Linked DNA regions of Homo sapiens: region 1 is linked to region 2. Evidence: promoter capture Hi-C in human tissues and cell types (Jung and others, 2019). All regions are on one chromosome and are shown on one strand. The core of a region is centred on a gene start or on the middle of the fragment in contact, and the rest is flanking DNA. Distances in the headings are between cores, read along the strand shown. Region 1 overlaps TM9SF2 (transmembrane 9 superfamily member 2). Region 2 holds the start of ITGBL1 (integrin subunit beta like 1).

Evidence for each region. Contacts are between HindIII fragments. The study calls those that stand out against the background at their distance.
Region 1: a fragment that was not itself captured here is called in contact with the fragment with the promoter of ITGBL1 in region 2 in 1 of the 25 tissues and cell types used here (dorsolateral prefrontal cortex).

Annotation. Positions count from the first base shown.
Region 1 is chr13:99,542,124-99,544,823 of GRCh38, forward strand. TM9SF2 (transmembrane 9 superfamily member 2) reads left to right here. Exons shown (of 17, transcript NM_004800.3): 10 at 1,740-1,872. Among named protein-coding and RNA genes, the nearest start is that of LINC01039, 34 kb to the right of the region's middle. RefSeq lists a silencer at 708-777 and an enhancer at 1,128-1,187. The HindIII fragment of the contact is 3,817 bases long and covers 1-2,700 here.
Region 2 is chr13:101,451,337-101,454,036 of GRCh38, forward strand. It overlaps ITGBL1 (integrin subunit beta like 1), which reads left to right and starts at 1,339. Exons shown (of 11, transcript NM_004791.3): 1 at 1,339-1,595; 2 at 2,547-2,700. The coding sequence starts at 1,498. RefSeq lists an enhancer at 917-1,421. The HindIII fragment of the contact is 7,410 bases long and covers 1-2,700 here.

The DNA of each region.
Region 1 (2,700 bases), core at 183-2,682, 1.9 Mb before region 2:
CTGGCAACAGAGCAAGACTCTGTCTCAAAAAAAAAAAAAAAAAATAGAAATGGAGTCAGCACAGCCTTGGGAGCTGACCTGTTCACAGCCTCCTGTGTGGGAATGGACTGGTGCAGCGTGGGGTGTAGGTGCACAGTTACAACTCTGTAAGGTTTCTCCATCCCTGACACATACCTGTTTGTGAAACCACAAAGTTGAATGGAATAACTCCTAAGCAATTTTTATTTGTGTGGTTAATTTTTTAAAATTAATCTTAACAAATTTGTATCATTTCAACCTTTTGATATATTTAAAATAATTGCATGTTCCAGCCTCTTTAGTCTCAAACTTTTTAAGTTGCACAGTGTTACACATTTTCTACTCTTCATTTCATGGCAGCATAATAAAAGAATTTTCACAAGAATCACAGTAATTTGGAATGAATGCAAAAAACTCAGGTTTTTATTGTATTCTCTTCCCCCAGCTTCTTCAGCCTCCTGTCCCCCAACCTCTCTGACCTGTTCTGATTGGGGAAAATATATATGAATATTCATAAGCTTTTAACGTTTGTACTCTATAGTCTCTTTCCTATGATTTTTATTGATTTTATGTCTTATTAAATATTAAAATGATTTTAAAATACTCTGTTTATAATTGGCTGTTCCACATAATTGCTGTTAATGGAGTTTTATCTTAATTTGCACAGCGTTGCCATGTGGAACCAGGCCAGTGGTGACTCTGCTTCCACAACCCTGTCCTACTTCCCATCTCTTAGCACAGCAGTCAGAGTGAAACTGCTCAAACAGAAGTCAGATCATTTCACTCTTGAGCACGGCCCTCCAGGGACTTCTGTTCAGTCAGAGCAAGAGTCAGAGGCTTTACAGTGGCTTCTAAGGCCCCACGTTACCTCAGCACTCTGCTGCACCTGTGCCGGCTACCTTGCTGTTCCTCAGACCAGGCAGACATAGGTTTCCACCTCAGAGCCTTCACGAAGCTCACTGTTTTATCTGCTAAGAAGGTCTGCCCCTCATTTACATGGCTAGTTCCCTTACCTCCCTCCGATCTTTACAAAATGTGATCTTCCCATTGAACCCCTCCCAGCCATCACATATGTTACATCCTGTCCTGCACACACCCATACATCCTGTTTTTCTGTACAGCGCTTATTACCATCTAATGTACAGTATACTTTCCTGACTTATTTTGTTTATTGTCTGCCTTCCCAATGAGATCATGTACTCCTGAGAGTAGGAATTTTTCTGTTACACTCACTGTGGTATCTGGTGTTTTAAACAGAGCCGAGCTTATAGTTGGTGCTCAATGAATGTTTACATCCATGCTTACTGTATTAGCAAAGTAGCTAGAATATGAGAGCTAATGCCATTTGCTTATTGTGGAGATCATTAAGAGTAGGATGAAGAGGATAGAATGTGACTAAAAATCGTCATCAAGTCAGATCACAAAGCTTGACTTAGAGTAGAATTAGGTAGCAATCACATTGTCTTTGTAAAGTTTCTCAATAAGTATATTTGTAGACCTTAATGTCATAAATTTAAGAAACTGACATATAAGACAGTTCAGCAAAGCCATATTAAGCTCCATGAGTCAAGCTGTATTCTTCAAAATTGAAATAGGTACTAACATTTTTAAGTTTAAAAAAAACCTGTTTTCTGTAACAGCATATTCAACAGTGAACAAACTGTCTATAGTTGTCTTGTTGATACCATGAGACAATCGAACTGATTTCATTCCCCTTTTAGGAAGATGCCCAGGAAGAATTTGGCTGGAAACTTGTTCATGGTGATATATTCCGTCCTCCAAGAAAAGGGATGCTGCTATCAGTCTTTCTAGGATCCGGGACACAGATTTTAATTATGACCTTTGTGACTCTATGTAAGTGTTAACTGAAAATTTTCAAGTAGAAAATACTTTCTAAATACAGTAATTGCTTAAAAACCAGTTTTTCTGGCCGGGCATGGTGGCTCATGCCTGTAATCCTAGCACTTTGGGAGGCCAAGGCGGGTGGATGACAAGGTCAGGAGTTTGAGACCAGACTGGCCAATATAGTGAAACCCCGTCTTTCTACTAAAAATACAAAAACTGGGCATGGTGGCAGGTGCCTGTAATCCCAGCTACTTGTGGGGCTGAGGCAGTAGCTTGAACCTGGGAGGCGGAGGTTGTAGTGAACTGAGATTGCGCCACTGCACTCCAGCCTGGGTGACAGTGCAAGACTCCATCTCAAAAAAAAAAACAAAAAACACCACAGTTTTTCTAAGTGGGTAGGTAAGCCAGATTATTTCTGAGCATCCTTTAGGTTCTCAAAATCTAAGTGACTTGGGGCAGGTTTAGTTGCACCCAAAGACTGACTCTTGGTTTCTCCCTTCAGCTCTTCCTAGACCAAGCCTTTGTCAGGGAGGCACTGGGCTGGAGATGAACAGGTCCTTAAGACCATCAGCATCTGAGTCTAAACAGCCCAGAACTGGGACCATTTAGGGTCTCTTTTACCCAGGCATCGTGGGCAGGCACAGTCTGGTTAGGGTTCCAGGATATTCTTGGCTTCCACGGAGGGAGGAGGGTGGGAAAAGAAGGGATGGGGCAGGAAGCACTGTGTAGATCCTTCTCATCTGGGGAGGATTTGGGAAGCAGGATCTCTCTCCTCTAGGGAAAGCGAGTGTGTAGGAAAGACCTTCCTTCCTCCATAAAAAGATTCTCTTCTTTGAG
Region 2 (2,700 bases), core at 89-2,588:
CTACTTATATATAAAGGACAGGGAGAAATCCCATCCTATTATGGCTCATCCCTGATTTTAAGGATCTGGGACCACAGATGATTCTTGGATGGTTCTATTTCATGAGGAAGGATTGCATGTACAGTGCTCTTCTTAGGGTGAATGAAAAATGTTTTCCCCCTTCCATATAACCCTCTACACATTTTCCCAGATGACCATAAATGTAGGGGATAGTGTATGCACTTTGGATTTCAGCTGAAATACGACTAACTTCCTCTGTGAATTTGAGCAAGTCAGTTGACCTCTTTGCCCTCAGTTTCTTTATCTTTAAAATGGGAGTAAGAATGTCTCCCTGTTCTCTTCCATCTCCTTCTTATTTCTACCCAATTTAATTCAATACTTTTTTCAGTTTTTTGTTCAGATGCTACCATCTTTGATTAGATCAAGTGCCTGTATCTCATCTGGAAGTAACTTCTCACTGCACTTGCAACCCTTTGTTCTTTTTTTTTGTGGTTTTGTGTTGATTAATGTCTTTCTAGCTCATTGGACTCTGAGAGAGCAGGGATCATGTCTCCTTAGTTCTCTGTTATATTCATTCTGTCTTGCACAAAACCTGGCACCTGATAGATGCTAAATCCCCATTTGCTAATGCATAAATAAATGTGTGATTATTGTCATAATTAGAGAAAACATACTAAATGACTGGCACATAGTAGGTGCTTAGTAAATGACACCAATTGTTTTTCAGTGCAATTTGTGCTATAAATAAACATTTAATTTTCTTTTCTCACATTTGATATATGGGGAGAATGGGGTGAATTTGAGACAACTACAATTTAAACTGTCCAAGTCACCAACAAATTGTGGTGTGATAAGCTACTGGCCTAAACAGCTGGAAGCATGACACGCTTTTTAAAGACTAAAGAAATGAAATATCCAGTTTAAATCAAAGGATAATAAATGCAAGAAAAAGTTGTGTTTGTCAGATTTCCTTGCCCCGGCCCCAACCCAAACTCCAAAGAGTGCATCTACTTTAAAAGCGTGTGGTGAAAGTAATTCCCTACCCAAGTGTTCCCACTACTGTCACTGGCCTCACCCTTCTCCACAACTCAGGGATTATTTTAAAGGTTTCTTTAATATCGGCCAGTCCAAATATTCTCTTGTCAAATATTTCTGTGGCCCGTACTTGAAATCTGTGAACAGGACACTTTTTTTTTTTTTAATGTCAAAATAAACCATCTGCTTGTACAACTGTTTCTAATTACTTCCCTGCCTAGACTCTCCACTGAGGGGTTTGGCACCAGCACCCCGCCCAGAGCAGTGCCGCTGCCCAAATCCTCGCAGGCAGCTCATCAACGCAATTGCAACTCCGGCTGGAGCCCCGGACCTGCAAGCCTGGGTGTCCGTGGGTCCGTCTGCCCAGCCATCTGCTGGTGGCACCTCTCCCTCCTGCCGCCTCCCTCGGTGAACCCCACCTTGCAGAAGTGCAGCTCGCCCGGAGCAGCCCAGGAGCTCAGCATGCGTCCCCCAGGCTTCAGGAACTTCTTGCTGCTGGCGTCCTCCCTTCTCTTTGCTGGGTTGTCAGCTGTTCCTCAAAGCTTCTCGCCATCTCTGAGGTAAGTTTGGTTTGTTATTCTTCAGTACAGACCTGCCCTGCTTATGTGGCAGGGCTCAAGCTTGCAGGATGGCTGCCCTAAGCCAAGAGCTGTTATTAAATTGGACAAGGGATAAACTGTTTTCAACCTGTTCCTTTTCCTCTCCTTATATCTACAGCGTGTATTGCCTCATGTCTGTCCTTTTGCTTTTCCTTTGGAAAAATGCAATCATTGAATAAAAATATAATTTTCTTTTCTGCAAATACATATCAGGAGGAATTCCTGCTGTGAGTTAAAATGCTATGTGTACCAGTATCTTCTCACAACATGTAAAGCAGAATGATCTGTTTCCCAAGGGCAGCAACAGGAGGTCTGTGTTACATTTTGTATCATCCTGAAAGAGACTGAGTGAGGCACACTGCAATAGTGAAACTAAACTTTTTAAAAGTAGAGTTCCTAAAGACTGCTTAATGCAAATTATGCCCGATGCTATCATAGCATGTCTAACTCTTTCTATAGATTCACGTTTTCTCTTCTGTAATATAAGTGCCCATTGGCCATCAGATAGCAGTGGGACGTTTTTTAAAGGAGAACTGAAAAGTCAGCTGAGTGCCGTACCTTGGATTACTTTGTATTTAATCTAAATGTGCATATAAGATTTAGTGATAAACTACCAAAGAGCAGGGCAGTTCACCTCTGTCCACCTGGAGGAAGGACCTGTGTCCGGGGGCAGGTCACCCATTACACATTTTGGGCCCTGGTCATTTCTCTGGTGGGTGATACCTGTTTGCTTGGGAAAATACAGCCCTTCCAGGCAGCGCTTGGACCCCAGAGAGATGTGGGCCTCAGGCGTCCTGTTCTTGGGGTTGTACGTCTGCACCTGGAGGGGACACTGGGGAGGAAACGTGGGTTCGGAGCAGGGGGCGGCGTCCGCGTCTGACCCGGCCTGCCGGTTGCTTGTCGCCCGCGCAGGAGCTGGCCGGGCGCCGCCTGCAGGCTGTCCCGGGCCGAGTCGGAGCGACGCTGCCGCGCACCTGGGCAGCCCCCGGGGGCCGCGCTGTGCCACGGCCGGGGCCGCTGCGACTGCGGCGTCTGCATCTGCCACGTGACTGAGCCGGGCATGTTC